Linked DNA regions of Homo sapiens: region 1 is linked to region 2. Evidence: promoter capture Hi-C in 16 types of primary human blood cells and fetal thymus (Javierre and others, 2016). All regions are on one chromosome and are shown on one strand. The core of a region is centred on a gene start or on the middle of the fragment in contact, and the rest is flanking DNA. Distances in the headings are between cores, read along the strand shown.

Region 1 (7,308 bases), core at 3,201-5,700, 5.7 Mb before region 2:
CTTGCCTAAGGTCACATAGTTAGAAAATGGCAGAGGCAGGACTCAACTGTATGTATCTGGCTTGAGTCATGCTCTTAATGATTGCTCTTGGCCTCTCTGAGGGATGTCTACTGAGAGGTTACCCGGTGTGAAAACAAAAAGAAGCATTTATTTATTACACATTTCCATTTTATTTCAAGGAACTCCTTTCAAAGGCTTTGGTAGGCAACATTATTTGCTAAATGAAACCCAGTAATATCTGTACCAGACTTGATGGTTTGCAGAGCAGTTTCATGTATGGTTCCTCATCTGAGCCCTGCAACAATCTGGTGAGGTAGGCATTGCTGTCTACTTCTGTTTATAGAGGAACAGAGGAGAAATCTGAGGCTCTGAGTGGTTAAGTGAACAGGGTCAAGGTCACCCAGACAGCAAGGAGCAGAGCAACGACTCAAATAAATGTCTATCAGTTTAAAAAACAAAGATCTGATGCCTCCAAATATGAAGTTATTTCATGCAACTTAAAATCAAATAAGTAAATAGCAGCTTAGCCAGTTTCTGGCACCTGGTAGGTCTCATAAATGTTAACTATCAACTATCTTCATCAACACCTCCTGGGAAGTGGAATAGTTTGGCTGATGACTGCAGCCTGTCTGTTGACCCTGATGGAAAGATTATTATTTTCATTCCAGTTCATCCCTGGTAATGTTGAAATAATGATCAATCTCCATTATCCCTGGAGTACCATAGAATGTTATGAGCTGGAAGGGGTTGTGGAGATGATCTCATCAGGTCCTGCATTTACAGATGGAGAAATTGAGTCCGAGAGAGGGGTCAGAAAGCAAACCCGTGGCAGACCAAGCCAAGGGCAAGGCTTAGGCACCGTGCCTGGCACATACTGCCTCCTGCAAAGCTGAGTTTTTACCTAAAAGGGCTCTCACGTCCTAAAGGCTACAGAAAACAATTCATTCGTCTCTCTGTCTGTGAGCACCACCACCCCAGCTCCGCGCAAAAAGCAGTACAGTATTATAAGCTATTAACCAGAAAACAGATCATGTGACTTAATTCCACCTCTGCTAAAGGGCTTAAAATGCTTCAGTGAGTAGTCTGATATTCGTAAATATACACTTCAACTATTTCTCAAAGAATGATTAACCAGCTCCATCAGAATTGGAACTTGTGCAATCAAGGAGAAAAAGAGCTGGCAAGAGAAATTTATTGAAAAAATTTTTACCAGCATTACAGATGACTTCTTGCCACCTTTTTTTTTTTTCCTAAGAGTTAGAGGAAGAAGGAAAGGAAGAAGAATCATTACACAATAATGAATTAAGAAAACTAATTGTGGAAAATTACAAACTCCTTTCACCTCACAAGGTAGCTTTCAAACAAACACAACAGGGTATTTGTAGAACCTAAAGACACAGACAGTATTGAAAAGGAGCAGAAAGCAGGAGTGTAACCTTCACTAACTTCTTTCAGAGAGTGGAGAGGCCTGACAGTGTATGGGCGTGATTATCTCTGGTAGCCCATTCTGGACTAACGATTCTGTGAACCTATAATTTAGAGAGTCCATAATGTCATATGTTCACCTTACTTATCTCCCTAACCCACTGAGTATTAATTCTCCCAGGCAGGGGACTAGCTTTTTAGGCCACTTGTAAGTCTTGATCAGCTTTAGCTTGAGGATTTGGGGGTGGGGAGGGATGATGGACAGAAATAAGGTTAGGGTTAGCCTTCAAATGGAAGAAACGGGAATATAAAATCCTCGTCTGTGCTGATCATGCTTCTCAAGAAAGGCTGAAATTCAGGCCCAGTGAACACACTTGTGGCCTTAACATCTCTCAGAATGAAAGGATTTTCTTCCTTCACAATACCTTTATCAAATTCCAACTATTTTCTACTTTTCTTCCTTATACAACCCAGGCGCACGGGTTGAAATAATTTTCCTTAAGAAATCCAGGAAGCTCTGGCCTGGCCCTCCCTCTAGAAAGGAAAGTCCAAGTAAAGAGGGATGCCACACCTGGGGAAGGGAGAGAGGATGTGACGACACCTCCAGGAATGCAGGGCCCACGCAGGTGCACTGGCACCCACGAACTTCCTGATAAATCAGTACCGATAACAGGAGTAAAACTCAACCACCCAACACTCACTCACACAGAGCTGGGGTGCTGCTCCCAGGGTGTGGCCTTGCCAATCAGGGAGAGGAGGAGGAGACCTAAGAACGGAGCTCTCTAAAGGTGGTGACATGGTATCTAGTCCAGCCATGATCAGAGTGTGGTCTCTGGGAGTCCCTGAGACCCCTTTACGGGGGTCTCTGCAAGGCCAAAACTGCTTTCACAAAACTAAGATGTCATTTGTTCTCATCATTCCCATTGTCTCACGAGTATACAATGGAGTTTTCCAGAAGGGACAAGACATGTGATGACATCATCACTCTGATGACTGTTGGAATGCATGCTTGTGTACTCCCATGTTTTGGACACATCCGTTTTAATTCTAAGATAAATATTGAAAGACATTACACATAAACAAAGTACTTTGGGGTCCTCCATGATTTTTAATAGTGTAAAGGGGTCTTGAAAACAAAAAGGTTGGGAACTGCTGTGCTAGTCCAAACAGGGGAGTTACAGGCCCTGACATGCACTTTATTTCCGGCTGAACTTGAGTCACCTCCTATGTGCTTTCAAACAGGGGGTGGAGGCAGCTTGCTTATTTATTATACAGCTTGGATTGGTGTCCTTTCCACCTGTGCTGCCACAGGTGGCCAGAAAAACCTTAAATCCTCCCACAAAACGTCTGGTTACCTGAATCCTCCAGAGGGAAAAAAATGAGCTTCTCGCCTTTGAACCCAAGTGGGGCAAAGAGCCTGCAGAAGGGACACCCTCAGTGGCAGCACCCAGCAAAGACCCATCTGAGTACCCGCTGGGAGTCGGGTTCTGTGCCACTCAATGCCAGCAAAGCACAAGCCGTCCCTGCGCCTTCGGGAGCTTTCATTCTAGGCTGGTGGCAGATTACTCACAAAACTCAGATGCACACAAAAATGGGAAACCTGTAACTTGTAACAAGTGCTGGGCAACAGGGGTACAAGTGTTAGGAGGCCTCCGAGGTGGGCAGGGAGATGAGGGGAGGAAGGTACCCTAACCACTCTTCTTGCCAAATCTCAGGTTGGACCTTCCCCTCCACCTCCATTCCCCTGCCCCCTTCCTGGCTTGCAGGTTTCAACAGCTCTTGGATTCCCGGGTCCCACAGGGAGACCTTGGGACCTGGGAATCTCCTCCAGCCAAAAGCTTCAGTCTTCTCCTCTCCTCCCCATGACCCACAGGGTCTGTGTGAAGAGAGGCCGGGCTCTGGGACGTTCAGAGAGGAGGATTCAGCGTTTTGTTGCTCTGGGACACAGCTTGGTCACTCCGGGAAACGAACACAACCTAGAGGCTGTCATTTGTAGAAACAGCGAATGGCCAAGGAATGGCGGGAGGAGGGAAAAGGAAGACTTTTAAAGAAAAAAAAAAAAAGCCCTGAAAGACTGGACTAGAAATCCTCAGGGAGGCTGGGCCTGCAAGGAGCCTTCCCGCGCCTCAGCCCACTTTCCTTCCCTCTCGACCTGACGGACTTAAGGCGTGCAGAGTCTCTTCGGACAAAATGAAGCCAAGAGAGCCCTAAGCTTCTCCCCCAGCAACCGCTGCAGAGGCGGGAAAACTTGAATTTTGCAACCAAGAGTTGCAGCGGGACGCCTAAGCAACGATAAGGGGCGGTGGAGGGGCGTCGTTGGGGGCTGCAGCATCCCAAAGTGGAAGCGGGAAGGGGGCCCGGCTGGAACCGAATAGCCCCGCAGCGCCTCGGCAACCGGACGGGCGGCGCATCCAATCCCCTGGACCGTGCGTGTGACTGGCGCGCGCTAAGCGGCGCGAGCCCCGGCGGAGCCGGGCAACCAGGCGCGCGCTCGCGCGTGCGCAAAAGGCCCACCCAGCCGAGCCCTTCTTCAGGTGCGCTCGCGCTTCCGGCCGGCCTCCCCGCGTGCCTTCCCGGGGCGGAAACTCCAGCACCCGCGCATGCGCCTTCTGGCTCTCCGGCCTGAAGCGGGGCGGAGGGCCATGGCTTCAGGTGATCCCGCCCCTCCCTCGTAGCGCAGGACCAATCGTGCGGTGGTAGGCGGGGTTTTGAGGAGGCAGCCCGCCCACGCACCGCGCGAGGCGTGTATCGATTGGTTGGCGCCGCGGGCGCAGGTGCGCGCTTTCTATTGGGTGTGGGCGGAACGCGAGGGATTGCGGCATCTTCGGGGGCTGCAGGTGAGCGCGCGCACGCGCCGCGGCTGTGGTCCGCTCGGGTGCGCGCGCGCGGGCTCGCGGGGGAGGCGGCAGAGGGAGAGGTTGCGGCGCTTGTGGCCTCCGCTCCGCCCCCTCCTCTCCTCCAGCGCTGTCGCCGTCGCCGCCGGGGCCCGGAGGGAGGGAGCTGCTTCCCCGCCTGCCGCGCCACCAGTCCGACCCTCGGTCCCGCCGTGTGAGCAGCTGGTGGAGTGGAGCTCAGCGCGGACGCCGGAGCTGCGGCCGCCCCCTCTGCAGGTGCCTGTGAGGAGGCGCCCGGGCCGCAACCGCTTTCCGAGATCCCCAGTCGCGCACTCGCTCCCCGCGCTCCTGAGGGGCCGCCCGGCCGGAGGAGGCCGTCGCGGGGCTCGGCGTTCAGCATGAACCGCAGCCACCGGCACGGGGCGGGCAGCGGCTGCCTGGGCACTATGGAGGTGAAGAGCAAGGTGCGCGGGGCCCGGGCTGGGCGGAGCGGCGGGCCTGGGGGGCCGGGGCCTGGGAGAGGCCGGGCCAGGCTCGGAGCGCCGGGGGAGGCGACGGGCTGAGCTGCCCCGGGGTCTGGACGGTGCGGTCGGGAGACTGTGGGTAATAAACTTGCCGAGGAGGGGGTGGCGGGGGTCAGGGGGCGCTAGTGTCCGCCCCTGGCCCGGGCAGGAAGAAGACCTAGTCCAGCATTTAATCTCATTCCGTAAATCTCATTCCCGTGTTCACGGACGGGAGTAGGGGCCAAGGTATATCCAAGGATGGCGCACACTGAGTGAAATGCGAGGCTGCTCAAAAGGTGTAGGAGAATCCTGCCTGCTGGGCTGTGAGTAAAGGGCCCTGGACCACCCCGTTGTTCCCACTTTCTGTGGTTAAGGGGCGCATCGAGTGGCGAAGGAGAGAGCCCAGTGAACTAAACAGCCCTTTAAAAGTTCGCTTTGCTTCCTGCTGGCGCTCTTTCTAGCACTAACTTTGGTATGCATTTAATCTGTAAAATTAGTACTATCACCTTACGTTGGAGTAGCACTTTACAGTTTGACTCTAGATGCTCTTTTCATTCCATCCTGCTACCTACTCACATCAAGTGCTTTTCCCCTTGACCAACGGTATGCCAATCTGCTGATAATTACTTCGGTATTCACTGAATTTCTAAATCTCAAGGCTCAGTGAGCAGGGTAGTCTGTAGGGAGGGATTAGTTAGGGAATGCCTTCCAAAGGGGGTTTTGAGCTGGAATTTGAAGGTGATCGGCAGCCAAGGGAACACTTTCAGCAAGCGTTTCTTGAGTTGAAGAGTTAAAAGGAGCTTAGATAATCTAGCCCAATTCTCTGAGAAGACTGAGGCTTAGAAAGGTTATGACTTCCTCAAGCTGTTTTTTTGCAAAGCCTTCATGCCTTTTTAATAACTTCTAGACATTGCAGAATACAAAACAGGACACTGGCTGGGCCCTGAGAACATTTAAAATAGAATTGAGAAGGCCAAAACACAGAAAAGGAGAAAATTGAAAGTATATCAATTTCAAAAAAAAAAAGTAATGGAGCATCATAGATGGTAAGACTACTAAGGAGTATGTAAAATCAAGGAGTGATTTGAGTGAGGTACAGTGGAGTAAGGAAAGCTTCCTAGAGCCTCTAGGTAGAATAGTTTTATTGTCTAGGGTTGATAAGCAAAGTTCTGTAAGTTTCTGTAACTGAGAATCACATCGAGAAAATCGACATTCGTTTGTAACATCATTAAAAAATGTGATTTGAGTCTGGGCGCGGTGGCTCACGCCTGTAACCCCAGCACTTTGGGAGGCCGAGGCGGGTGGATCACCTGAGGTCAGGAGTGCCAGACCAGCCTGGCCAACATGATGAAACCCCATCTCTACTAAAAATACAAAAAATTTTTAGCCGGCCGTGGTGGCACATGCCTGTAATCCCAGCTACTTGAGAGGCTGAGGCAGGAGAATCGCTTGAATCCGGGAGGTGGAGGTTGCAGTGAGCCAAGTTTGCACCATTGCACTCCAGCCTGGGCAACAAGAGCAAAACTCCATCTCAAAAAACAAAACAAAACAAAAACAAAAACGGCTTGGCACTTACATGAGGATTGGCACTAGTTTCAGAATTAGTAAGAAAAGACGTGTAGTTACAGCAATTTAAGGAATGTGCATGTCCATGTGTCCTCTGTGCACAGCATAGCAAATTGAAGTGACTTGCTTGAGCTATAGCGTTAAGATGACCCAAAATACATAGCAGAACTTTTCCTTTAGCGGTATGGTGGCAGTAGAGGTTCCATGCCCAGTGGTTGAACCTTCTTATGGCATTTTTGTTATAAGTTTAGTTTGGATTTGTGGGAGTTGAGGTTATGGAAAGAAAAACACTTGTGATATTGCATAATCTTAAAATTTTAAGTTTATAGCCCTAATCTTGGTAGCAAGTCTTTAATTTTTTTCCACAGAAAAAAATGAGTAGGAATTCTAAGTATACTGATAAATACAATCAAATAGTAATTTATCTCTAGTACTAAGAAACCTTGAGTGCTTTAAAACTGGAATTTCAGGCTTTTTGCCTTTCTCTTGTCAACTGATTTGTGAATCTTTCACTTACTTCTGTCTAAACTACATGTTGTATATTTGAACTGCCATACTGCACTTTCAGCTAACTGTGTCTTTTAAATAGAATCATACACTGATTCTAGGAACATGTGCTGAATGAAGTCGGTCCCACTATTCTAGCTGTTGACAAATAGGCAAGATATAGGTAGTGAGTGTTTCTAGTATGTCTATGACACCTTATATGTTTCAAATATATATTGCTGATACATTTATTTTCAGTAGATTGAAACATTTGTCACCTTAACCATTTAAAAAATATTTGGAAGGGTTTTTGAAACAGTATTTTCTTTGACATTGCTTTAGTGATACCACAGCTTTTTACAAAACTGATTGCTAAGAGTTTATAACCAAAACTAGGTAGTGTGCCGGTCCTTTTTTTTTTGAGACAGGATCTTGCTCTGTCACCCGGGCTGGAGTACAATGGCACGATCACGGCTCACTGCAGCCTCAACCTC
Region 2 (7,498 bases), core at 4,999-7,498:
AGCACCCTACATCCAGACTCAGTAACAAGCAATCAAAAGGACACCAATTTATGCTGTGTCCTCCCTGGGTGCCCAACTCTTCCAAGAGGGTGAGAATCAGGTCTGTATTTTTAGCATAGGTCTGGCCCATGGGCAGACACTGTTACTTCAACCCAGACACCATATTTTCTCCCCATCCTCAACAGATATAAAAGCTAAGGCTCCAAACAATAAGTGCAAGTATATACACTGGCTTTTTTAGCAACGACGACAAAGAAGGACTATCCAATGAGTCTCAAAAGCTAGTTTACCAGGTGCCGATGGCAGGGGCTGCTTGCTCTTTTGGGTGTTATTCAGTGGCCTGGAGACAGGATGAGGTACACTGGTTGCCTGCAATTGCTTCTGCTTCTGATTCTGAACCGGCTTGTGACTGGAGACAAGCTTTTGTGCTTGCAAAGGAATGCGCTGGGAAGAATTTGAAGGACACAAGACCCGCTGAGCCTGGCCACTATTTACAGGTAATGGATTCTGACAAGGAAATTGCTGAGTCACGAGAACACGTTTTGGACCTCCAACTGGAGCTGTAGCCTAGAATGGAAGAGAAAATAAACTTTCTGGCATTCATGAAAGCAAAAGATGAATATATTGAGAATTTCACAAAGTTTGTTCTCTAGTATAGCAAAATAATGAATGTCACTGATAAGAGATGGAAGGTGAAAAGGTATTTTAATCAGTACCTCCAGAGGATAGTTAGTATGTGGCTAAGAATACCTGAATGATACCTTCTATCCCCTCCAATTCCTCACCCCTAAAAATCATGCTTTATTAACAAATATCCATTAATGAAGGAGACACTTTCTAAAATTTCTCAATAATTTGGAAATAGACACTACATTGCTATTTGGCAAAAAGCTATGATACAAAAACTTTATGCCAAAATCTCAGTTCCATTGAAATTTCTTTGATAATATACGTTTAAGAAAAAGACCAAAAAAAAATACGTCAAAACGTTCAACAGTGGTATTATCTTCATGAAGTTTTAGAAGAGTCTAAGTTTTCATATATCGAAGATTTTCCACAATAAGCTTATTACTGTACTATTGATTAACCAATGTTTCATTTTCCAAGTATTGACAAAATGGAATTGAGCAAAAAACTGACAAAGAGGAAACAAATGTAGACACTTCACAAAGTTACTACTAAAATGTATTATTATTATTATTTTTGAGATGGAGTCTTGCTCTGTCACCCAGACTGGAGTGCAGTGGCATGATCTCGGCTCACTGCAACCTCTGCCTCCCAGGTTCAAGCAATTCTCTGCCTCAGCCTCCCAAGCAGCTGGGACGACAGGCGCCTGCCACCACGCCTGGCTAATTTTTTGTATTTTTAGTAGAAACAGGGTTTCACCATCTTGGCCAGGCCGGTCTTGAACTCCTGACCTTGTGATCCACTCTCCTTGGTCTCCCAAAGTGCTGGGATTACAGGCGTGAGCCACCGCGCCCAGCCTTGAAATGTATTATTTATACGCCTGTAAGTACTGTATTACAACCTTAAATTGTTAAGTTAACTCTAACACCCTCAGCTAATCAAACTAAAAGGGGTAGGAGGGATGAGATTTCCTTCAGCTTCAACAGCTCATTGTAAGTGAGGGACAAGTGCTAGAAATGAAAGCCTCAAAGTCCATCCCCAGCTCAACGGTATGAGTGCTCTACAAAGAGAGGGTGTTAAGACTTCCAAATACAAAGTCAGTTACTCCTGAAATTAGCACACTGTCCACAACGCAGCAGGCATTCAGACAAAGACAAATAAAAAGAAACATTTTAAATATAGAGCAATTTTTTAAATGGCCGTTATCATAGGAACTTAGAATCAAATACAGTAATTCAAGGTAGCCTTTTTCTAATTATTTTATATTTATGGCCAATTTTAAAAGTTTTGAACTCCTGCCAGATGCATTATTACTATTATCCTGCATACAGTGGAGGGATATAGAAACTTAAGCAGCCGATTATAAGACAAAGCAGAACAAAAAAGCTACTCTAAGAAGCAGCAAAATGTTACTGAACACGAGAAAAGTGACTAATTCATATCCAGGATCACAGTAAGGGATCTAAATTTAAATCCAAAGTAAAGGCGGAAAGAATTCCCGACAAGACCAACCTCCATGTGGGTTTATAAATGTGAATGAGATTACAGATTATTCAATTTACCTTAACAGGTCCTGAAATGCAGTTTTCTTTAGATCGGTCCATGATGCCTGAAAAGAAAAAGAAGAACCTTTAATTTGAACAAAGCCACCTGCTTAAAGTGCTGTTGCTCGATAGGCAGCGTTACAGTTCCCCAATCAAAAGGCCTCCACAACACACCGGATTTTACATGTTTTGTCCAAATGAAGCTAATGAGGGAGGGACAGGCATGTGCTTTCCCTGCAAGGCCAACCTCCCCTTGGGCACTGCGTCCCATCCTCTGTCACGGAGTCTTCACTCCTGATGGTCTTGCTGCTCCATCATCTCTCCTCTAATGGATCACTTCCATCCCTGTGCAGCCTACTGGCATACCTGCTACCTTAAAAAAGTCCTCTTTAGGCCGGGCATGGTGGCTTACACCTGTAATCCCAGCATTTTGGGAGGCCGAGGTGGGCGGATCACCTGAGGTCAAGAGTTCGAGACCAGCCTGGCCAACATGGTGAAACCCCGTCTCTACTAAAAATACAAAACTTAGCTGAGCGTGGTGGCAGTCACCTGTAATCCCAGCTACTCGGGAGGCTGAGGCAGGAGAATCACTTAAACCCAGGAAGCAGAGGTTGCAGTGAGCTGAGATCACACCATTGCACTCCAGCCTATGGGAAAAGAGCGAGACTTCGTCTCAAAACAATAAAATAAAATAAAAGTCCTCTTTATTCTATTATCGTTGCTAACAATGACCCCCTCCTCTCCAACAGCAAAGCTCCAGAAGAACCGTCCACACTTGCCACCTCTACTGCTCCTCTCCCCTCCCCTGAGCCCATCCCCACCTGGCTTTTTTGTCTCCACCACATTGTCAGGCTCATGGCTGACACCTACTGCTGCCAAACCCAAGGGTCAATTCCACCTTCCCCGTACTTGCATCCTCAGCAGAATCTGACAAGGTTGATCACATCTTACACTTTTTTCTTCACTTCACTTCCAGGTTTATCTACCACCTAGTCGTCCTGTCTTTCCCTCCTTGCTGGGTCAGTCTCATTTTTGCCAGATCAAGGGTCTGGGGTGACTCAAGAACGAGTCCCTGGACCCTCCACTTCTCCATCTACACCTTCACCAGGGATCCATATCACCCAGTGCCTCAGCTCTAAATGCCTTCATGAGGACCACTCAAAGTGCGTCTTCTGCCCTAGTCTCTCCTTGGACTGTCAGACTTGGATATCCAAGGATTTGCCCAGGATCTCCCAAAAATGTCTGCCAGGCACCTCAATCCTAACATATCCAAAACTGAACCTCTTCCCTTCTCCACTTCTCACCTCCCTGTTCATGGGTGTGCCCTGAGCTCAGGCCTAGAATGACTTCTCCATCTCCAATTACTCCCTAGCCGAGTACATCCAGTCTCTTTGCTTTCAGTACCATCTACAGGCTGAGGACTCCCAAATATTCATTCTTCAGCCCAGACCTCTCCCCTGAACTCTTGATCTACATTTTCTACTTTCTATGCAACATCTGCACCTGATTATCTGAGCGGCATCTCCATTCTAACATGTCCCAAACAGAAGTCCTAATCTCTCCCCACTCTCACCTCCCCAAATCTAGTCTCTAGACATCCTCATCTCAGTGCATGGCAAACCCATCCTGTCAGTTGCTCAGGCCAAAAGCCTTGGCATAATAACCCTTTACGAGGTTCTCTCTCGCAAACCCTTCATTTAATCCACCAGCATATTCTGTAGGCTCTGCCTTCAAGATCACTGCTCACCACCTCTACTACTACCACCTGGTCAAACCATTATTCTCTCTCCCTTGAGTTTTTTCCAACAGCCTCCCAATGGCCTCCCCACTTCCACCCTTACCCTGTCATGGTCCATTCTTAACACTGAGGCCGGCAATCTCATTAACAAATCAGATGTGTTGATCCTCAGTTCAGAAGACCCCCATGGCTCCCAACTCAATCAAAACAATGCAAACTCCTAACCTGCATAGACAGGCCTATTGAAGTCTCACAGAACATGGACCCTAACTACCTCTCTGACTTCATCTCCTCTTCTTGTCAACCGTGTACCAGCCACACAAGGCTTTCTTTCTGCAAATAAGTCCCCTGCCATAAGCATTTGCACTTCTTGCTCCCTTTATTACGCTTTTCCCCCAGGTGTGTAGTTCAGTCTTTCATTTCACTGAGGTTTCTTTTTTTTTTTTTTTGAGATAGAGTTTGCTCTTGTTGCCCAGGCTGGAGTGCAATGGCGCAATCTCGGCTCACCCGCAACCTCCACCTCCTGGGTTCAAGCAATTCTCCTGCCTCAGCCTCCAGAGTAGCTGGGATTACAGACATGCACCACCACGCCCAGCTGATTTTGTATTTTTAGTAGAGACAGGGTTTCTCTATGTTGGTAGGGCTGGTCTGGAACTCCCGACCTCAGGTGATCCACCCACCTCGGCCTCCGAAAATGCTGGGATTACGGGCATGAGCCACCGCGCCCGGCCTTCACTGAAGTTTCTTATCAAATATCCCCGCACTCTGGCCTGGGCAATGGAGTGAGACCCTGTCTCAAAAAAAAAAATTAAGATTACCATTTTACAATTAAGCAAATAATTCCATGATGAAGCCAGGCCCAGACTACAGGCTGCAGCCCTTATAAAAAAACAGTGGGTAAGTAAAAGTTGATAAACAGCAACAAGGAAATGCACACTTGTGTTAATCAAATATTTAATTTCACACATGCTCTAATGCTTTACTTCCCTTACAATTCTAAGTAGCAGTCTAATGAGATCACATAGGCCTAACAACATTTATTCAACATTCTTCTGACAGAAGCTACAGGCATTTGCTCCAATTTATTCTACCTTTCTTTCTAGGGAAATTGAATAACAAGCAGAATGGAATAAGATTCTAATCCAGAATTCTGGAGACAACGCCAAGGAGACTGCCCTTCAGGTGACTCTAATCTGCAACCAGATTGAAGAACCAGATGACTTTCACAGGATCCATTCAGTTCAAACCAGAAGTCCTACTATTTTGAATAGAAAAGCTGTTAGGCTAATAGCGCAGGAGGTTTATACGGTTTATTCCTTCCTCCCTCAGACCTGTGCATGTCTGCAGAGATGAAGGGAAGGACGAACTGAGTAGGTTGCTGAAAAACGTTTAATTCAAGGGACAAGGAAGGTTACGGAAGAGGAAGAGACATTACGAGAGTTAAGGACAGTGGCTACGTCTACCTCAGCCGGATGGTTCTTAGAAATGGAGACTCTGAGGCCTAACCCCAGGTCTAAAAAAACAGATTCTGCATTTTAACGTCCCCAGACGATTTGTATGCACCGGTCTGCATCCCTAGTTCTCAATGAAACCTAAGAATCATCTGGAGAGTTTGTTAATAACTAGACACCTGGGTCCTACCCCTCAGAGATTCTGATTTACCGGGCTCTCGGTGGAGCTATATGTTTAACAAGCACTGCAAGTTATCCCGGTACAACTGCTCCAAGGTCTACGGTCTGAGAAGTACGGACCGGGAAGGCCTCTGCAAGGAGGTTCTCATTCATCAATTCACCCACTCATCCAGCCAGGACAAGGGCCTTCTTAGGCTATTCTATCTAAAGCGGCCCCCGTTAAACCGCACTCCTGCTTTTCCTCTGTAACACCCACCCCAGCTGCAAGTTCTCCGTACGCTTACCGTCTGTCTCCCCACCCACTAGAACGTGAACTCCAACACAGCAGAGACCTTCTGTGCTTTTCTTACCCAGGTGATCTCGGAGGACAAAATCCAATCTGAAGCCCACCCACCCCTCCCGCGCATGTCAACACCACTCAACAAACCCCTTGTACCTCTAGCTGTAATAAGTAACAAGCAGTATCCTACAGGGCGCCTCGGTGCCCAGGAGCGGATGCAAAGGCGCTGGGCGGGCACAAGGCAGCGCCAAGGACACTCAGGGACGGAGGAACCGACAGGGGACTTGACGCTCCGCCACTCCGACCAGCCGCCCCTTGTCCCCGCCGTCCTCGTCCGCCACTGAGATATCCCCCACGGTCTACCCACCCGTCGGCTCCCACCTGCGACCCAAGGACCCAAGTCTTCCAAGAGCTCAGCCGTTAGAATTCAAAGGTTCTTCTTTTTAAATAGGAGTTAAACCCTCTAGCTAGAAAGCCGATTGGCCTGCGCTCGAGCGAGGCTGCCTTGTGATTGGTTGACAACAAACCCGACGCCTTGAGTCGCGTTTAAGGGCGCACACCGCGCGCAGGCGCACTTGCTCCCTAAGAACCCGGAAGTGGTGGAGCCAACGGCCAGCCAGACCTGTGGCAGTCCCAGCCCCAGGGTGCTCTCCGCGGTCGGCCATTTATCGGTGAAGCAACAGCCCCTTGACGTCAAGCTTGACGCATTGGAGATAAAGTCCAAGGAGGTGAACTAACCTTTGAACGTGCCAGTAAGTAAGATGGCGAGAAAAGCAAGAGAGAGTGGGACCGATCGATAGCGCAGCGGTCGGCTTGGCGCCCTTTCAGCGTGCGCAGTGAACGTGCGCTCGGAGCGGTAGATTGGGCAGGATTCGCGCCTCCATTTTTCCAGGAGAGAGCGGGATACCAAGAGAACCGGACCAGCTGGTACTGGGACACGGGGAGAGTAGCTGGTGCGGTCGGCTGGGGCATTTAGAGAAAACCACAGAAACGACTGGGGCGAGACTGGAAGAGTCGAGAGTTAGCAAGGTGGCATGCGCCTCTACTTTGCGTTTCCTAAGTTGCCCGGCTTGGCCTGCACCCCTTCCTCTTCTCGAAGGGCCTCGCTTCCATTCCCACCCAGTCCTTAGTTCGCCTCTGCATCCAGATGGTCGCGGCGCATATAGTGAGGGGGCATCTGTGTTCTAGCCTTTCCAACTGCGATGTATCCGGTCCTGGATCGGGTTCTTGTCCTCGTGTGCTCACCTGCAAATTGGGGATAATTAGGCTTCTGTTTACCTGGCGAGTGAACGTTCTGTGGGAGTTGAGAAGTTAGGGGTGGGCCACTTAAAATATATATATATATACACACACACACACATATACATATATATACACACACATATGTGTGTGTGTGTGTGTGTATGTACACCCGGGATGTGCTCAGCAGAAGTGAAGAGACCGGATAGAACAGTGGTGTAGGGGAACCAAAAATGGCTTCCCTCCATCCTTCCAGGTACCTTATTAGGACTAAGAGTTAAATTCACATAAGACGAATTAACAGATTACTGCAGGGTAAACAGGATGTGCATGTAAAGCATTGAGCTAGCATACGGAAATTATTCGAGTCATATTAACCCAACGTTAACAGTAGAATCTCTCATCAACTTTTCTTTGCCAGACTACCCACTTGTGATTT

What was found. The method cuts DNA at HindIII sites, captures the fragments that hold promoters and counts their contacts. A CHiCAGO score of 5 or more calls a contact.
Region 1: a contact is called between the fragment with the promoter of PARD6B here and the fragment with the promoter of AURKA in region 2, in 1 of 17 cell types (fetal thymus). The highest score is 6.5, in fetal thymus.

The regions. Positions count from the first base shown.
Region 1 is chr20:50,727,130-50,734,437 of GRCh38, forward strand. It overlaps PARD6B (par-6 family cell polarity regulator beta), which reads left to right and starts at 4,451. Exons shown (of 3, transcript NM_032521.3): 1 at 4,451-4,723. The coding sequence starts at 4,658. RefSeq lists silencers at 336-445, 3,794-4,003, 4,104-4,893 and enhancers at 1,402-2,601, 3,554-3,603. The HindIII fragment of the contact is 2,238 bases long and covers 3,636-5,873 here.
Region 2 is chr20:56,385,967-56,393,464 of GRCh38, forward strand. It overlaps AURKA (aurora kinase A), which reads right to left and starts at 6,249. Exons shown (of 9, transcript NM_198437.3): 1 at 6,202-6,249; 2 at 2,190-2,236; 3 at 291-567. The coding sequence starts at 2,231. CSTF1 (cleavage stimulation factor subunit 1) reads left to right here and starts at 6,679. Exons shown (of 6, transcript NM_001324.3): 1 at 6,679-6,747. RefSeq lists enhancers at 120-1,319, 6,395-6,634. The HindIII fragment of the contact is 5,454 bases long and covers 1,063-6,516 here.